7 separate regions of the Homo sapiens genome follow, and regions 1, 2, 3, 4, 5 and 7 are each linked to region 6. Evidence: promoter capture Hi-C in 16 types of primary human blood cells and fetal thymus (Javierre and others, 2016). All regions are on one chromosome and are shown on one strand. The core of a region is centred on a gene start or on the middle of the fragment in contact, and the rest is flanking DNA. Distances in the headings are between cores, read along the strand shown.

Evidence for each region. The method cuts DNA at HindIII sites, captures the fragments that hold promoters and counts their contacts. A CHiCAGO score of 5 or more calls a contact.
Region 1: a contact is called between a fragment that was not itself captured here and the fragment with the promoter of MAFB in region 6, in 1 of 17 cell types (monocytes). The highest score is 6.9, in monocytes.
Region 2: a fragment that was not itself captured here is called in contact with the fragment with the promoter of MAFB in region 6 in 1 of 17 cell types (monocytes); the score reaches 6.7 in monocytes.
Region 3: a contact is called between a fragment that was not itself captured here and the fragment with the promoter of MAFB in region 6, in 4 of 17 cell types (monocytes, M0 macrophages, neutrophils and 1 more). The highest score is 11.6, in monocytes.
Region 4: a contact is called between a fragment that was not itself captured here and the fragment with the promoter of MAFB in region 6, in 1 of 17 cell types (monocytes). The highest score is 5.2, in monocytes.
Region 5: a fragment that was not itself captured here is called in contact with the fragment with the promoter of MAFB in region 6 in 2 of 17 cell types (monocytes and M2 macrophages); the score reaches 7.9 in monocytes.
Region 7: a fragment that was not itself captured here is called in contact with the fragment with the promoter of MAFB in region 6 in 1 of 17 cell types (monocytes); the score reaches 6.4 in monocytes.

Annotation. Positions count from the first base shown.
Region 1 is chr20:40,306,243-40,308,952 of GRCh38, reverse strand. The region is part of intron 1 of LOC105372617 (a long non-coding RNA gene); the gene reads left to right. Among named protein-coding and RNA genes, the nearest start is that of LINC01370, 300 kb to the right of the region's middle. The HindIII fragment of the contact is 7,580 bases long and covers 1-2,710 here.
Region 2 is chr20:40,179,405-40,182,104 of GRCh38, reverse strand. No RefSeq gene overlaps it. Among named protein-coding and RNA genes, the nearest start is that of LINC01370, 180 kb to the right of the region's middle. The HindIII fragment of the contact is 8,234 bases long and covers 1-2,700 here.
Region 3 is chr20:40,266,685-40,269,384 of GRCh38, reverse strand. No RefSeq gene overlaps it. Among named protein-coding and RNA genes, the nearest start is that of LINC01370, 260 kb to the right of the region's middle. RefSeq lists enhancers at 1-36, 37-568. The HindIII fragment of the contact is 1,636 bases long and covers 530-2,165 here.
Region 4 is chr20:40,233,509-40,236,214 of GRCh38, reverse strand. No RefSeq gene overlaps it. Among named protein-coding and RNA genes, the nearest start is that of LINC01370, 230 kb to the right of the region's middle. The HindIII fragment of the contact is 560 bases long and covers 1,169-1,728 here.
Region 5 is chr20:40,322,385-40,325,084 of GRCh38, reverse strand. No RefSeq gene overlaps it. Among named protein-coding and RNA genes, the nearest start is that of LINC01370, 320 kb to the right of the region's middle. The HindIII fragment of the contact is 8,564 bases long and covers 1-2,700 here.
Region 6 is chr20:40,687,792-40,690,491 of GRCh38, reverse strand. MAFB (MAF bZIP transcription factor B) reads left to right here and starts at 1,256. Exons shown (of 1, transcript NM_005461.5): 1 at 1,256-2,700. The coding sequence starts at 1,642. The coding sequence ends at 2,613. RefSeq lists enhancers at 1-65, 66-1,043 and silencers at 994-1,303, 1,324-1,393. The HindIII fragment of the contact is 7,144 bases long and covers 1-2,011 here.
Region 7 is chr20:40,196,497-40,199,196 of GRCh38, reverse strand. No RefSeq gene overlaps it. Among named protein-coding and RNA genes, the nearest start is that of LINC01370, 190 kb to the right of the region's middle. The HindIII fragment of the contact is 159 bases long and covers 1,321-1,479 here.

The DNA.
Region 1 (2,710 bases), core at 198-2,697, 380 kb after region 6:
TAGGATTTTGAGCAATGTATAATGACGTGTACCCTGCATTACAGTATCACACAGAAGAGTTTCACCGTTCTAAAAATCCTCTGAGCTTCACCCATTCATCCTTCCCTCCCTGTCCCTGAACCTCTGGCAACTACTGATGCTTTTACTCTCTCCATAGTTTTACCTTTTCCAGAATGTCATAAAGTTAGAATCAGATAGGAGGTAGCATTTTTGATATCTCTTTCTTGTACCATTTTCCTTCATGTTTTCATGACCTTTCCAGCTTACCACACACACTTACACATGCACACACACACACACGCACACTTACACATGCACACTGTCCTTCCAAAACCGAATCGAAAAGTTGAGAAAAACTCATACCTAACTTGGCTCACAAATTTGTTAAGTTTGAGAGGGCCTTTGGGGGGTCATTTTCTCTCTCTCCCTGCCTTCCTATCAGGAAGTAAACACTGACAATTCACCCAACTCATAAGAGCCAGGCCTCTCCTCCTGGCTTGGTCTGTTCACTTCTTGTTTCCCTAAAAGCAAGGGCCTTTTTGCCTGTGCTGTGTCTGAGCGGTAATTACCTTGTGTCTGTTCTGCTGCCTTCAAATTATTTTTCCCACCTTCAGAGCAATTGCCTCCCACTTCTTATCTCTACTGTGATCTTCTGCAGGGCACAAGGGACCTGTCTCTTGACTCTCATATTTTTGCTTCTGATGTTAAAAAGTCCCCTTGAACTTGCATTTTACAGACACCAGCAAAGCCCAAGTGTCTTCACATAACCTGACACTTCCCGGGGGCAGGGTGTTTGCAATTATAGCCTGAGCTGGCTGCGGGATCAGAGCATTGCCCAGGCCCGGCGAGGCCTGGCCTGCAGAGCACTTTTGATGAGTGATGGGGTTATTATTATGAATGCTATGCGAGGACGCTGGTAAAGTCCCATGGCAGGAGGGCTTTTCTCCCTTCATCTTGCCTTAGCATAGACAGACAGACATATACATACATATATGCATATACCGGGAGGCAGGCTGGCTAGGGAGAGAAGAAAACGAAGTTAGAGGAAATTCTCACACATTTTGGAACGATCTTTCTCCCATGCCTCTGTCTTCCCAGAGTCTCCTGTTTCTCACTGACAGGCCATCCTCTCTTAAGGACCATGAATATAGTTTACTCCCAAATTGAAAAGCCAACCTCTTTTTCCAGCTTTTGTATTCCAACACCCTTCCTTCCCTTTTATCTTTTTTCTTGAGGCTTAGGATTTCTTTCTTTGGAGGCATTTTCTGCCACTTTTGTCTCTTGCAGAGAAAATAAAAAATACCTAGGTAGAAGGATAGTGGTCCTAGCTATTTGCATAGATAGAGTGCTTCTCTAGGGAAACAATTTTTTTCCAACTCTTCCATTGTGTGTGTCTCTGTTCTGTGCTGCAGAGTGTTGATCATTGTTCATTTATGCCTCTTTGGTAAATCTATGTCCCTGTGGGTGGGCCCAACCTTCCCTGAAAGAGGGAGGCACGCCCAATGTTAAATGTCTGGGAGGAGGCCATACTCAGCCAGAAAATGTGATCTTAGGAGGCTTGGCAAGGAGCCTCCTAGTCCTTCCACTTTGGTTTCAGACTTTGAGGAGACTTGATGCCTTTGGAGGAGAGCAGCATTTCACGGTTTCGAGATGGCCTCCCTGATGGGAAGGTGTGATGGGAACTGGGAAGGGGCTCCCAGGCTACGTGTAATGAGCTGAAGGTAGGAAGCCACCCTCATCTTGTCAAGTGGCATGGCTGCTTGTTTCTTGCCTGTTCATTCCCTTCAGTTGACATAATCCCTTTAGAAAAGCCTCCCGGGAAAGTTTGAAATTTCTCTTTAAAACACTGCAGAATCCAGGGAAGGACCTTGCCTCGCTGTTTCAGGAGAGCAGTAAAGAGACTGGAATGCCTCCCAAGATCAGCTGGAGCAGCAGGGAATGTTCTGGATTTCATTTGCAAACACGACTCAAATTTAAAATCGTCATCATATGCCTGTCATTATGTTCTAGATCTTAAAACATCCTTATGAAGTGGCACTGCTCTTGCTCCCATTTTACAGATGAGGAAGCAACATTTGAGACTGTGTATGTCAACTACCCCTCCTCATTTTACATCCTCTATTTTCCGATATCCTTGAAAGAATTGCATGGCATATTAAAAAGGAAGTGGAATGTTTTTGTTACATTTTTACAATGCTCAAAGCACCTTTGTGTACTTGGTCTTCTATCTAGATGGTTAAATTCCATGGATAAAGCAAGACAGAGGCTTTTCTGTTTTTGTTTGTTTTTAAAATTTTAAGAGCTGGACACTGCAGTCTGGGTTGTATGACTTATTGGAAACCGTGTGTCAATAGATGGAGGGGATGGAATTCAAAATTATTGCAATTCCGGGACTTAATCCTCTAGTACTTGATTTTGGCTTCATTCAGAATCTGTTCATGTATGGAAATGCCAAAGACTGGGAATGTAATCCCAATAGTCTCAGCAGCACGCTGGGAATAGGAAGGACTCCCAAGTCCCAGTGGACCACAGACCTGCTAGGTCAGACTTTCCATGTGTTTGCTTAGTTCACTGGAAGTGGCCAGGGAGACTCCTACTAATGTGTCAATTATCTCAGTGTATCAATTAATAGGCTCTGTTAAAAAGTCAAGAAGATGTGGGGATTTGAAATAATCATGTGGATACCTTGGTTCTACACCTGCAGTTTTGC
Region 2 (2,700 bases), core at 190-2,689, 510 kb after region 6:
ATCTGAAAGCTCGCTGGAAAAACTTAAGCATTTCAACAAACCCCCTTCACTTTAAGTGCATTCAGCATTTTCCTCCTCAGAAATGACTTGTAAGTTTGTGCTTTTAATTATTATCATTCTCCCCTGAAATTACAGGCAAAGCACTCAGTGATATTTGAAACATCAATTACTGGCCTGCAGCCCTCTGCTACTGTTTCTCTGCCTGCTGCCAGGGCTGCAAATCCATTTTTTGCATTTCTTTCAGATTTTCTGAACAAAATTATGGAAAATCGCTGTTGGCACATGGCATTTTTCCACAATGGTCAGAGTTATTGAATTGTGCCGTTATGTGCTACTTTGAGAAGACATTCCAACTTAAAATGCCAGCTTCAAAACTATCAGTACGTTTTCTCCAATCTGAGCTTTATAAATTTTCCACAGGAAAAGGCTAAGAAGTTTGCCCTCGCTTTGCCTGGATCTCCTGCCGAGCGTAACTACCCACTTGTGATGGTTCGTGTTGCTGATTTTTAGCTCATCTCTGCTTTGAGTTCTCTTATTTGGATTTCCTTTCTGTTCTCTCATCACAATTGCTCACCCTGCGTGGCCATGCATCCATGGCCCCCGGAACTCTGAGGCCTCCAGAGGGCAAACTATTGGCAGCCATTTTGAATTTTTCTTCTCTGCCACTTCCTTTCAGGCCGCGATCTGTGCAGTCATGTTCCAAAGGCAACTGGAACTCAAAATCCCCGACTAGACTCCCCCTTCTGTATCCCCCATGGAGGATCACACACAAATAGGAATTTTGGGAGTTGTTCTCAACTAGTGTCTCTCTCTGAGACCACACAGTCATGCTGTCTCCAAGACCTGTCAATTCTACCTCAAATGTCTCTCCCATATCAACTTCTTTGTGTGTGTGTGTGTGTATATATATATATACACACACACACATATTTATTTATTATACTTTAAGTTCTAGGCTACATGTGCACAATGTACTGGTTTGTTACATATGTATACATGGGACATGGATGAAGCTGGAAACCATCATTCTCAGCAAACTTCTTTTCTATCACTGACTTTTCTTTTAGATTTTACCACCTGGCTTATATCTTGCCACTAGTCTTTTCCTTCTTCAGTGTATCTTCCACATTGCTGACAATGTATTTAAAAATATATATTTATTAGTTGACAACAGTTATTAAAATCTACCCTGTATCAGATACTGAAATAGGCTCTAGGGAAATAGATCTGGTGAGTGTATAACCCCATCTTCTAAATGTTATGAACCATTGTTATTCCACTGCTTAGAAAGAGCCAATGGTTCGGCCAGGCGCGGTGGCTCACGCTTGTAATCCCAGCACTCTGGGAGGAGGAGGCGGGAGGATCACCTGAGGTCTGGAGTTCCAGACCAACCTAACCAACAGGGAGAAACCCAGTCTCTACTAAAAATACAAAATTAGCCGGGTGTGGTGGTGGTTCATGCCTGTAATCTCAGCTACGTGGGAGGCTGAGGCAGGAGAATCACTTGAACTCGGGAGGCGGAGGTTGCAGTGAGCCGAGATCGCGCCATTGCACTCTAGCCTGGGCGACAAGAGCGAAACTCCGTCTCAAAAAGAAAAAAGAAAGAAAGAAAAAAAAAAGAGCCAATGGATCATCTCTATGAAATAAAATCACAGGTCTTTAACGCAGCTGGTCCTCTGCGACAATGGTGACATGGTTCTGATGTGTTTCTCTAGTCACATCTCTCTCATTTCTTTCAACATACCCTATATTCCATCTGCGCTAATCCCTGTTTCTTAAACGAAGCAGACTTTTTTTTTTTGATCCCAAATCTTTACCGTACTATTTCATTGCAACCTGTACCCATCTTTCACAGCTTAGCAAACACAAATGCCAAGTTATTTTTTTAAGGCTTGATTCAGATTTTGCCCTCCTATGAAGCCTTTCTATTCCTACTCGTCTGGCTCCCAGATCCTCTGCACCTTAATTGTACTGCATTCATAACTCTGGAAAATCAAAAGGGGGTGGGAATGGTGGGGTAATATAGGATGGCAATAGGGAGCACAAGCCTTGGGGTCAAATGGATCCAAGTTCCGTTACTGATCAGTAGGGATTTTGTGGCGTTGCTTATTTTATCTAAGCCTCAGTTTCTCCATTTATACATTTGGAAATATGAATATGGACGTCACAGAGTTTTTAACAGTATTTAATGAACTCATTCACATAAAATGTCTATCTTAGAGTAAGTGCTAAATAAATTACATCATTTATAATTGTTATCACCATTGTCATTTTTATTATTATAGTGTAGCTTACCCCATGTTATTACAATTAGTTTTGGGTCTCTCTTTCCTACTAGACTGTATGTTTTTACAGTACAGGAACCATCTCTTTTTATTCTTTTTACCTCTTTTTCTCCAGTGCCTAGAATAGTGCCTGGCTCATTTTAGGTTCACAATTAGTGTGTGCTAAAATAGCAAATTAATCTTTATCTGGAAATCCGCAGGTACTTCGAACTCAACATGTAAGAAATTCAGAGTCATTAGCTTACCCCAATGCATGCAAAGCATCTAGAACAGTGCCTGGCATCTAACAGTTGTTAACATATAAGTGAATTATATTATAATTTGAATTACTCAGCCAACACATTGATGAGTTATTCTCTTGATGGTGTGTAAGAATTACAAACATCAATTTCTGTGGAAGATAAGACATTTGATT
Region 3 (2,700 bases), core at 98-2,597, 420 kb after region 6:
GTGGGGACATTTTATAGGATTTGGGTAGGTAAAGGAAAATTACAGTCAAAGGGGGTTTGTTCTCTGGCGGGCAGGAGTGGGGGTCACAAGGTGCTCAGTGGGGGTGTTTTTGAGCCAGGATGAGCCAGGAAAAGGACTTTCACAAGATAATGTCATCACTTAAGGCAAGGACCGGCCATTTACACTTCTTTTGTGGTGGAATGTCATCAGTTAAGGTGGGGCAGGGCATATTCACTTCTTTTGTGATTCTTTAGTTACTTCAGGCCATCTGGTCATATACCTGGAAGTCACAGGGGATGCGATGGCTTGGCTTGGGCTCAGAGGACTGACAGAGGATAAAAATAGTCTTGTTTTCAAAATAGAGAATTCTAGAATATTAGTAGAAATAGAAAAGGGTTGGCCTGCCTTCTAAGTACTGTTCTCAGAAGAGTAAAGATAACTCTCCTTGCTTCCTCATTTCCCCACCCCCGTGGTCTCCAGGAGCCATCCCACTCCTTGGGCCTCAGGGACAAATCTCCATACGCAAGCTTGTCCTGGAGATGAGTCCAAGGGAAGGTTCACTTACCTGTCTACTGTCAGCTCCTCCCACTTCTAGTTCATCCTACTCCCACACCTAGTGAGTTCATGTTTCAGATCTCAGTTCAGATGTCACTTTTTTAGGGAAGCTCTCTGGGGCCTCCCTGTCTATCAAACCCTTGTCTTGACAGAAGAGTACTATGTTTCCTGTCCCTTTCACAGTAACCATCACAGTTGTAAATGTGTGTTTATTTGTGGGAGCATTTGGTTAATGTCTGTCTCCATAGCTGGAATGTAAACTCCTCCAGTGCCGGGACTCCACATCTGATTGCATTCAGCCCTGCATCTCCAGTACCAATCCCATTACTAGGAATGTAGTTTACACTAAATAAATATTTGCTGATTGAATAAGCAACTCTTCTGTATTGGATTACACACATAGGAGAGGTGACTTCCCAAATCTATTCTAGTTCAAATGTCTAGTATGACAATCTGTTTCCATACTGTAGTAGGTGCTGTTGGTGCCCTGCTCAGCTGCCCTTTGCTGGGCTGGTGCATCCATGTCTCATCAGTGCTAGATGTTCTTGACTCACAGCTGGACCCTTCAGAGAATTACTTGCTATCAGGAGCTGTGCCACCCAGAATGGCCTGGGAAGCTGCATTCTCTCCAGAAGTCTGTCAGTAGCCAATGGCCAACTAACACAAGGGCAGAAAAGTTTGGCACCCTTGCCTCAAGGTGGGAACTCTGTGGTTCCACGCAGGCTCCAGAGCTGCCTGTGGAATGAGGCTGAGACTAGACTTCAGCTGCACCCTCACCTTTGCCCGGTTTCTTCCTCTGCCCTATAAGGCTTCCCTCACACACTTGCAAGTTTTATTTGGGGGCACTCCTTCAATAGCTCAATTACATATGAATCTCAGCTTAGGAAATGCTTCTAGGAGACCTAAACTAAGACACATTCAATATGCATAACCAAAAGGATACTGGTAATTTTTTTTTTTTTTTTTTTTAGATGGAGTCTCTCTCTGTCGCCCAGGCTGGAGTGCAGTGGTGCCACCTCAGCTCGCTGCAACCTCTGCCTCCTGGGTTCCAGTGATTCTTTTGCCTCAGCCTCCCAAGTAGCTGGGATTACAGGCATGCGCCACTACGCTCGGCTAATTTTTGTATTTTTAGTAGAGACGGGGTTTTGCCATGTTGGCCAGGCTGGTCTCAAACTCCTGACCTCAAGTGATCCACCTGCCCCGGCCTCCCAAAGCGCTGGGATTACAGGCAGGAGCCACCACGCCTGGTTGATACTGATAAATTGATTCTCTGGAAGAAAATGAAAACAACAATAAACAACAATTCTGATTTGTAGCATTTATCAATTATACTACACAACTATAGTAGTAGTGTAAATAACTCCTACTACAGCCATTTTCAAGCTGCCAATGTGATTGCTGCTGAACACAAAGTTGAAAAGACATGCATGCAATTGGCTCATGGGAGTCAGTAAGAGCTATGTTTAAAATATCATAACTCATGATATACATAAATTAAAAGTTGTACACATAATATTAATATTATGATTAGTACCATTTTGATGGTAACTATGTGCTAGGCATTTTGATAAATACTTTATTTTTACCTCTGTCCTAATCTCCAAGAAGCTTATACTATTCTTACCCCCATTTTATAGAGGTAGAAACTGTGGGTCATAGAGTTACATTATTTACCTAAGGTCACACTACTAGTAAATGGTGTCGCTGAGATTCAGCTCTGACTCCAGATTCTTAATGCATGACCAACTTTAGTGTCACCTACTAAAAGGCAATAACTGCTCCCTTCCTGAGTATAGAATTTTACATTTGGAATAGTGACATTTTTCTGTACAGCAATTTTCATTCCTTAGCATATTTGATTATTTCAATAGAAACTATGCAGGGCAAACATGAATATTTTAAAGATGAGGACCTTGAGACTCAGTGATTTGTTCAAAGGTTCTAAGGCTCAGAACTAGAGTTGCACACCTGGGCTTCTCACGGTCCAGGTGTCTTTCCAGCAGACCTTAGTCTTTCTTCCTCAGAACCTCAACTCTCAATGACAGCTTCATTAACCTCTGGATGTAAAATTTAGCCAATCCTTATCCAGAGAAGGCCAGCATTCAAGGTATTGAATGAAACATCATTCATCAATTCTTCAGCGGA
Region 4 (2,706 bases), core at 199-2,698, 450 kb after region 6:
TTTTCTCCTCTTTCTGAACTCCTCAAACAAGGAAACACTTAATACTAATGGTCTTTTGTCCTGCAGGGTCCTCCTTGTGCTGTATCATTGGTTCACTGTCCCCTCACCTCTGGATTTCCCTTCTTATATCAATGGATACCCTGCTGTCCTTAGGAGAATGTTCTCTTCCCCTGATCTTCAAAACAGGAGCCAGGAAGGAGAGCGCCAGGGGCTGGGGGAGCTGTGAAGGGAAGTGACAACTCCAGATTTCTTTGAAAGAGCAGGTGAAGAGGCTGAGAATACTTAGGTTTTATTTTCCTTTGCCTTATTATAAACAACCTGCATACATAAAGGTTGTAACTTTGATTCTTATCACAGAAGGAGCCTCTGATTTCAGTCTTAGACAAGGTATGTAAAAAAACGGGGGTTGTGGAGGGCATTGTCCTTGGATGTGGGAATGGAGCCAATGATTGTGTCTGAGAATTTCCATCATTTAGGTTTCTGGGGCTGAAAAAAGTGCTTGAGGAATGAATGTAACCAAAATGCTTCTCCCTCTTCTCTCTCTTCTTTTAAAAAAATATGAAGGGAGAGGATTATTATGGCCAGGGGAAGGAGGAGGATCCCAGGAGATGTGGGTTGATACTGTGAGTTGTTTATCTTTCTTCTCCCACTCTGGGTCATCAACTCTTAGTGATCAGAGATGACATTCGTTCATCTTCATATTCTTGGTGTCCAGCAGTAGCCATGCTTAAAAATAAAAGATTCTCCCTTATAAATTTTTTTCACTTTCAAAATTATCTGTATGTTTTATAGATATAGAAATCTATAAAATTTTCTATATTTTCTATTGTTTGCTGTAAATGAACGTGTGGATATGAGAAGGAGGAGATATCTGAGTGAACTCTTCCAAGCAGAGATGACTCGGTATGCCATCCACCCATGTTTGTTAAGTTTCCTATTCCTTCCTCATGTATCTTGGTTGCTTTGGCAAAATCCAAATTGCCCAGGATCCTGGCTGCTCCATCCCATCCCATTGACTTATAGCCAGAAGGAACACAGTCTCATTTCTTAACAACCCTTCCTGCATGCCCCTCCGACACACATTCACTCTGTCCCATCTACCCATTCATCCTCACTCTTTTTCTACCTAATGTACACTTTCATCTATTAGCTAGAGTTTTGCTAAGCTTCCTCCTTATTTCTGATCCATGTCCCCTCCCTTCCTTCCTCTCTCTCTATTTCTTTTCAGGTTAATTTATCTGATTATATGCAACATGCTGCAGCCATGTTAAGACACCAACTGAGTTTCCACTTGGAGGCTTGGAGGAAAGATTACCATTAAAACGTGACTTCCATCCACTCAGCTGAAATTACTATTGATTGCCAAAGAAAAATATTTGTGCTGTGAAGCTGGGAGCTATGATGTTGAACCATATTAACATAATGTTAGCATAGCTACGGGTGTTTAGTAGCATGCAATCAGATTTGAAATGAACGTTGATTATAGATGGAGATTAATGTTCACATATTCATAGGAACACAATGAGAAGAGCAATTTCCTTTCTACTACAGATCAATGGTTTCCCCATTCAATTATACAGCTGTAATAATTGCATTATGCTGAAATATTTCTTAATGGCTAATTTCTTTCCTTTTGTGTGTGTGTGTATGAGCTCTTTTGTCAGTGATAGCTTCTGCAGCCCGAGGACAGCATAAGATGTTTTAATCACTGGTGCCATTTTGCAAGCTTTGACCAAGCCAGTAATTTCCCCTCTTTCCCCCTTTTTTGCCAGTCTCTCTTATTATCACCCAGAATTGCTTCCTGGATGATTGAAATCTAGAGACTTGCCTCAAGTCTTTTCCTTCCCTGTTCAGAGAGTGAAGACAAAACTGGAAACCTACAGGATCATGGGTTGCTCAATCTGTTTTTGCACATTTGCTGAAGATTCTTTGAAGGAAAAAGAGATGAAGATCCTCAAATATTATGCATAGGATGCCCATCCCCCAAATGACTCTTATTTAATATAAATATATACATATACATAGATATTAATTTGGAGACCATTCACTGATTAAAAAGCAGACAAAATACCTAGTGTCTTCTCCAATACTCCAAGCAGACCTCTGAGGGCTGATAGGATGTCAAAGTTTATATTTAATGAATGTAGTTACTGTAGTGAAGATAATATAAATGAATGTAAATCAAAAAATATATATTTATAAATGTATAATATATAGATATAAATTCATAACAAATATTAATTTATAACTTATAAATATAAGTTTACAATATATAAATGTATAAATATAAAGGTTATTAAAAATATTAAGAGACTGTAAGCTCTCCTCTGTTTCTAAAGACAATGACGTTTTCCTGCTTACCTGGCTGTGTCTCAGAGGAAGTCTGGCTAGCATTTTCTTCTTTAGATGAGCACTTTCTTATAGATGAATTATAATATTCCTGTCTCATGCCTTTCTCAGCTGTCCATGGGTGAAGACTGGGCTTTCTCAAATCTGATTTCTTTCATCCTTGTGCATCGAGGCTTGTTCATAACTTAGTTGAACAGAGTGAGTCACAATAGAAAGCAAGCTAAATGTGAAGCTCTTCCTCTAAACAGAGGTCCCAAGGGCACTGTTTACTGTGTGCCTTCTGGCAAGTCATTGACAATTCACAGCCTCAACCTTTCCAGCTAGAAAGTTGAAAACTGATCTCCTAACTCACAAGGT
Region 5 (2,700 bases), core at 106-2,605, 370 kb after region 6:
AAATCTTAACCTATGGCACCTGTGAAAATGACTTAATTAGGAAATAGGGTCTTTGCAGATGTATTCAAGTTCAGAGGACATCATACTGGACTAGAGTGAACCCTAATCCAATGACTGGTATCCTTACAAGAAGAGGTGATTTGGACACAGAGATCTGCAGGGAGAAGAATGCATGACAATGGAGACAGAGGTTGGAGTGATGTGGTTGCAAACCAAGGAATACCAAGGATTGCTGCCCCTATTAGAAACTAGGGAAAGAATAGGTACAAAAACAGTTAGAATAAATAAGATCTAATATCTGATAGCACAACAGCGTAACTATAGACACTAATAACTTAATTGTACATTTTAAAGTAAGTAAAAGAGTATAATTGAATTGTTTGTAACACAAAGGATAAATGTTTGAGGTGATGGATACTCCATTTTTCATGATGTGATTATTACGCATTGCATGCCTGTGTGAAAACATCTCAGACACCCCATAAATATATATACCTACTCAATATCCACAAAAATTAGAAATAAAAAATTAAAAAAAAAAATGAAGCTAGAAAAAGACAAGGAAGGATCTTTCTGGAGAACCTTTAGTGAAAGCATTGTCCTGCCCACACCTTGATTTTGGACTTCAGGGGACCTCTGAATACATAGCAAATGGTGGCAAATGCCCCCATGTCTATATTGTGGGAGGGGGTGTTAAATGGAGGACCCTCCAGTGCTCAGAGGCATTACCCCGATAGGGCGGCTACATGGTTGGTTGGTGGTGATATGGGACCCTGACCACAAAGCAGAATTTTTTTTTTTTTAGTTGAGATGGAGACTCGCTGTGTCGCCCAGGCTGGAGTGCAGTGGTGCAATCTTGGCTCACTGCAATCTCTGCCTCCTGGGTTCAAGTGATTCTCCTGCCTCAGCCTCCCGAGTAGCTGGGACTACAGGCACATGCCACCACGCCTGGCTAATTTTTTGTATTTTACTAGAGACGGGATTTCACCATGTTGGTCAGGATGGTCTCGATCTTCTGGCCTTATGATCCTCCCACCTCAGCCTCCCAAAATGCTAGGATTACAGGCATGAGTCACCATGCCCGGCCCAAAGCAGATATTTAATTTAACCAGTTCTTGTGTTTGATCTCTCCACCTCATTATTTCATATATCTAATCTTGCGCGTATCTCACAAAGCTCATTGCAATTATTTGTTATTTTAAAAGCTCAGTCTCTTTCTCTAAGGCTTTGGTCATCTCTGTAACTGGTCAAAGGAAGGACCCTCTGGGGGCAAAAGTTACTTTTGATTTTCCAGCAATTTCCCCTATTCATGATTTTGCAATTGCAGAATGCAGCTTGCTGTACATTTGCATAAGCCACTTCATCCTTTTTCTTTCAGGCTCTTTAAGCTACCCAGCACCCTCCACACATGAGTCACACACAGCAGTGGCCCTTAGGGTTGAGGTGCCTTCTGCAGCTCCCACACCCTCGCTGACAGACCTCTCTTTCCTCTCTGGAGCTGTGCTTCATTTGCTGCTGGGCGAAACTCAGTCTTGCTGCAAATTTGGCGCCTGCCTGTGTGTGTGTAATTGGGTTGGATTTACATTAAGAGGGTTCCCTGTGGTGAAAACCACACTGCTATTTCCAATCTGAAGCTGCATAAAACATTCAATTTTCTAAGTATCCGTCAGCTGTTAGCACTGTGGAAAACGTAGTCTGCCTGGATGGATGGGAGGCTCCCACTCAGTCCTGTAAACCCTCCGATTATTTGTGCTAACAGAGGGGATAATATTATATGGTTGTGGATAATGAAGCGTTATTCATCTAAGCATCCACTCATTCATTCAAGGAACACATTTGAGAAACTGGTGTGTGCCAGGCACTGTTCTGAGTGTCTAATCAGATCACATCTCTCCTCAGTTAAAAGCCCTTCAAACTGACTTCTTGTTGCATAATCTAAACCAAGGGCCAGCAAACTTCTTTTTTTTTGTAAAGGGCATGATAGAACATAGTTTAGGTTTTGTGGGCAATGAGGTATCTGTAGCAACTATTCAATTCTGACATGGCACCTTGAAAGCAGCCATAGACAATGTGCCTATGAATGAGTGTGGCTGTGTTCTAATAAAACACTATTTACAAAAATAGGCACTATTTATAAAAACAGCCACCGTTTGCTGACACCTAGTCTAAACACCTGATTTTGTTCTGCTGAGCTCTGTGACCTACTCCTTGTCTCATTCCTTGTGTTTACCAGACGTGGCTCTCCCTGCCATTTGCTTCCCTCTGATACAGAAACTTCTTTTCAGCTCAAAAACCCACCAAGCTCTTCTCTGACTCAGGATCTTTGTGTATGCTATTCCCTCTGCCTGAAGGAATTCTCTTTTCCTGACTTTCGGGAAAGATGGTTCATCTTCATTCCTCATGTCATCCATGTGTCTTATGCGATGGCCTCCATGAATGGAGCCTCTTTTGAAAGCTGGTCCTGCCTAAAGTGACTTCCTCCAGTTTCTCTCATCTCAGCCTGTTGGTTTCTGTCCTTGTAAGGACATGTTACAGACATTAATTATCTTTTAATTTACTTATATTTTGGCTTTGTTTTTTGTCTCCCACAAAGGAAGGCTTTAAGTCCTCAGAGGGCAGCTTCTTTTTTGTCCCATTCTCTCTCCTCAATTGTATACCTTGGCACTGCACTTAGTGTGCAAGGGTCTCTCAATTTATTTA
Region 6 (2,700 bases), core at 7-2,506:
GCCCAGGACCTTCCGGCCCAGGGAGCAGCCGACGGGCACCCCCGAACGCTGGGGCACGGAATTTCAACGGGGCGACCAGAGCGGAGCTCGCGGCTCGAGGCTCGCGGCTGAGTACGAAGACGGGACCCGAGGACCTGTACATCGCTCGAGGGGAACCTGTCCTGGGCTCTGGTGCACACATAGTATGCGTTCTGGGCTGGCTTGGGTTGGGCCAGGTAGGGGAGACCTGGCTGGGTACGAGGCGCCGTCCAAGCCTTCCGGCCGTGGGCCGGGCGGTCGCGGCGCCTTTGCGCACAGTGGCCACTTGGGGTCGCACTTTATGCCTGTTTGAGCCTCTCCGCGGCGGGCTGACGCCGGGATCTGCTTAATCGTTACAAAACGTTCAAACAAAAACAGGGCCGGCTCCCCAGCAGTGGAGAGCTACTCGGAGCACCGTCCCGGGCCGGCCTCGGCCCCGAGGCTCCGGGGGCTCAGGATTCCGTGCGTGTGGCGGGGAAGAGGAATTCAGAGCCTTTGGGCTGCTGCTTTTCCCGTCGCCTTCACTGTGAACATTGTGCGGTGGGGTGAACGCGGGGAGCGGCGGGGCCAGTGGAGTCGAACCTCAGGGCTCTGCGACTGCACCCGCCAGGAGGGGCCCTCGCTTGGCCTGAGAAAGGTCCCCTGAGGTTAAGAGTTGGGTCTGAACACAACTCTCGGAGCCTCGAGCCCGCCCTCCCCAACATACAAATACGCGCAGATCTCCAGAAACAGGAACGCACGACACACACGGCCAGAAGCCGCGAGGACACACAGAGCGTCGCCCACTGGGCGGGGGCCGCTTGGGAACAAAGGGCCCAGGAGGCGTTGTCCCGGCGCTCATTCTGAGCCTCCTTGGGGGTGACACGGGATGGGGGTGGGGTGCAAAGGGAACTGAGGGAGGAGAGTGCGCGAGGAGGGGAAAGCGGTGATTTGGCCTAGAGGTGGGGCGCGCACTCCAGGCGAGCGTGCGTGGGCCGGGACCTGCAGGGTACGGGGGTGGGCCCAGGCTGGCCGTCCCACTCCGCTCCAGCGCTCCGCCAGGCCTCCGCCGCTCCGGGGCCGCTCGGGCCGCCAGTCAGCTGACGCGGGGGGCGGGGGAGCTGTCAGGCGCGCCCCGCCCTGCGCCGCTGGGCCGCGGAGGCCGTGCAGCTATTGGCCCGCGCACCGGGCCGCCCGGGCCCCCGCACCCCAGTGACATCAGGAGGCGATAAAAGGCTGCGGCGCCGCCGGATCCAGCACAGCTGCACCGCCGAGCTGCGAGCGGCTGCGAGCGAGAGAGCGTAAGAGCAAGAGAGCTAGAGAGCGAGCAACGGGCACTCGCCCCACGCCTCCCCTCAGCCCCACCGCGCGCTCCGCTTGCCTCTCCACCCCGCCCGACTCTACCCGGCCCGGTCCCTGCGCGGGCACAGCCCAGAGCTCTGGGGCGGTGCAGGCAGCCTCGGGACTCTCCGGCGCGCCGCCGCGTCCCCAGACAAAGGCTTGGCCGGCGGCCCCGGCCCGCTGCGCCCTCGCTCCCCGCCTCCCCAGCTCTTCTCCGCTCTTCCCCCCCGCGCTTGGCTCGGCGCGCTCCGGCCGGCCGCAAAGTTTCCCGGGCGGCAGCGGCGGCTGCGCCTCGCTTCAGCGATGGCCGCGGAGCTGAGCATGGGGCCAGAGCTGCCCACCAGCCCGCTGGCCATGGAGTATGTCAACGACTTCGACCTGCTCAAGTTCGACGTGAAGAAGGAGCCACTGGGGCGCGCGGAGCGTCCGGGCAGGCCCTGCACACGCCTGCAGCCAGCCGGCTCGGTGTCCTCCACACCGCTCAGCACTCCGTGTAGCTCCGTGCCCTCGTCGCCCAGCTTCAGCCCGACCGAACAGAAGACACACCTCGAGGATCTGTACTGGATGGCGAGCAACTACCAGCAGATGAACCCCGAGGCGCTCAACCTGACGCCCGAGGACGCGGTGGAAGCGCTCATCGGCTCGCACCCAGTGCCACAGCCGCTGCAAAGCTTCGACAGCTTTCGCGGCGCTCACCACCACCACCATCACCACCACCCTCACCCGCACCACGCGTACCCGGGCGCCGGCGTGGCCCACGACGAGCTGGGCCCGCACGCTCACCCGCACCATCACCATCATCACCAAGCGTCGCCGCCGCCGTCCAGCGCCGCTAGCCCGGCGCAACAGCTGCCCACTAGCCACCCCGGGCCCGGGCCGCACGCGACGGCCTCGGCGACGGCGGCGGGCGGCAACGGCAGCGTGGAGGACCGCTTCTCCGACGACCAGCTCGTGTCCATGTCCGTGCGCGAGCTGAACCGCCACCTGCGGGGCTTCACCAAGGACGAGGTGATCCGCCTGAAGCAGAAGCGGCGGACCCTGAAGAACCGGGGCTACGCCCAGTCTTGCAGGTATAAACGCGTCCAGCAGAAGCACCACCTGGAGAATGAGAAGACGCAGCTCATTCAGCAGGTGGAGCAGCTTAAGCAGGAGGTGTCCCGGCTGGCCCGCGAGAGAGACGCCTACAAGGTCAAGTGCGAGAAACTCGCCAACTCCGGCTTCAGGGAGGCGGGCTCCACCAGCGACAGCCCCTCCTCTCCCGAGTTCTTTCTGTGAGTCGTGGCCGGTCCTGGCCCCCGCCCTTGCCCCGGCCCGGACTCCCTGTCCCACGTCCCTAGTCCCAGACTACCCCGGACCCTGTCC
Region 7 (2,700 bases), core at 151-2,650, 490 kb after region 6:
TCAGTGGGGCACCATTTCTTCTTTGTGGCTATTTATTCTGGTCCATTTTAAAATTTCTGTTACCTTCCACTGAGGACCCAACTAGGCTGGATTCATCCTTAGACAGAGGAAATGTGCAACAAATAGCTCTTCTCTTGGCCCATGTGTTCTCCACCCCCTGGTTTATTTAACCGTGGCTACTCTCTTCATTAATAGCTGTTTACACTTCACAGAGATACTTGTTGGACTTGGCAAAAACCGTCAGCTCTACTCATATTCGGTCTCTGACCCAAGGCAAATTTTCATATTTGACAATATTTTGCTTTGTAAGAGCAACTAGTGAAAAACAGTTAATTAAATAGTCTAGGTTGTTCCATTGAGAATAGATAAAAGCATGTGGGCACCCTGTTAGCCTATTGCTTCTTGAAGGACAGTAGCTTGCTGAAGAGGGTCAACCCAAATACAGATAAATATAGAAGGAAAGTGGGAAAACATGGGAATGTAGATTCTCCCATGGCTCTCTTCATCCTCAAATAAATATGTTCATGAAAAAGAGGAAGACATCACCACTAAGTACCATGCCCTATCTTCAAGTTTCTAAGATTTTGTTTGTTTGTTTTTGTTTTGTTTTTTTGTTTTTGTTTTTGTTTTTGACAAAGACTCACTTTGTCGCCTAGGCTGGAATGCAGTGGTGAAATCTTGGCTCACTGCAACCTCCACCTCCCGGGTTCAAGCGATTCTCATGCCTCAGCCTCCAGAGTAACTGGGATTACAGGTGCGCTACCATGGCCAGCTAATTTTTGTATTAGATGGGGTTTCGCCATGTTGGCCAGACTGGTCTCGAACTCCTGACCTCAAGTGATCTACCCGCCTAGGCCTCCCAAAGTGCTGGGATTACAGGCATGAGCCACTGTGCCGGGCCTAGTTTCTCAGGCTTATAGGCATATTATAGCCACCTCGGCTGCTTCCCTGACACTGGGGAGGAATGGTCAAATCCAGACTTGGATTAACTTTGCCTTCATCCTGTTTAGCTACAAGTCTTAAAAGGAAGGCCAGCCCTTGCAAGGACAGCATAAATAAGCTTCATGCCTTCAATCAGACAGCATGGTACAGTTATTTGCAAGTCTTGAAAGGGCCACTTAATAGGACCTTCGTGTCCTTTTGAGCTAGCTGAAGAGAAAGTGCTGCTAAACTGCTGGATTGGCAGAGCTAAGTTTATACAGATGGAAGAGTTAGCAGAGACCACAGAACAAATACCAGCAACCAACCCATTTCACACTTCTGAAAAAAGAGAGAAAGGAATGGCAAAGGCTGGCCAAAGCAAACAGGCTTTGGAAAGCTTGAAACTGTGGGCTGGAATTTTCAGTTGTTCCTAGTCTTTTCACACTCATTTTGGGGAACTTTCTCCACTCAGAAGCGCAGAAACTTTTTGCGTTTACACTTCTTGGGTTTTGCCTCCTACAGAAAAAGGGAAGTTAGTTCCCAATAACACGATAAGCTTTTCCAACATCATCAGCACAGTTTTTCTGGAGTCTGAGCCTTTTGTGGGGGACAGGGGAGGTGCCATTCTTTCCAGAATTTGTGTTGTTGGGGTTCCCTTAGCTTGTCTTTTTGTGTCTGCACTGGCTCTTAGTCTTTTTTATTTTCTTTTTATTTTTCTTTTCTTCCAGGAAAGAAAGCTATTTTCTTTTATTTTCCCCAGAGTGTGCTGGGACATAAAACCTCCCCACAATCTGCTACCTCACACAAATACCCTTCAGTTTCCGCTGAAGCACTTGGGTGCTTATCAAAATGTATTCTAAAGTAAACACGAATGTTGTTGCTGCCTTGGGGATGTGTGATGTTTCTAGCTCCAACCCCAGAAGAACTGAGGACAATATTTGGAGACAAGAATTAAGGAGAGATTTAGCTTGAGTGGCTGTGAAATGGGCAGCTGCCATCTCTGGTGTGGTTGCATAGAATTTATGGATAGTGGTTGGGAGAAACTTTCCTGTGGGCTGGCATTAGAAAAGCCAGTGGAACAGCTTCAACTAAAATGCTTTGTTTGAGAAAGTAAGAAAACTCTGTGCACATGGGACAGACCTTACTATAATCATCTTAGCTCTGGATCAGTTGGAAAATGGCTGTCAGAGAGGCTTTTAATGGGTTAAGCAGGTTACCCAACTAGTTTACCAGAATGTGTAGATGCGTGTCTGCAAGGAAAAATTCTGCAACTGTGTCTAAAAACAGTTCCATCTGTTCCTATGTATTCAAATACTTAGATGGGGAAAAAAAAGAGTAAATGCAAAGACAAGGATTAGACCCTTTACACAGCAGATTGTCTCAATTCAAGTTGGTAATAGTGGATGACCCAGAGGCCAATAAACAAAGGACCAATGGAAATTAGGTACCCCCAAAGGAGAAAAAAAAAGCAGCCTGAGGGAAGCCTGGGGATATTTCCTGCTGAGCTGCTTCCAACTAGATGATACCTACCAAGGCTGGTACACGCAAATGTGTACATGGCTTTTTGTGTATGAGACTTGGGGATGGACGAAGGCAAAGTCCATTAGAGAAAGTACTGACATCTGGATGACTTTGAACACAAAGAAGGAAAATTTTTCCTTGGAGGTGGCAGAGTAAAGAGATAATAAAAATCATCTAGGTGGCTGAAATCAGAGTGAAGGAGGAGTCCAAAGCAGTACATTTGAATGAACACATGGTGTTCAAAAGTTTGGAAACCCT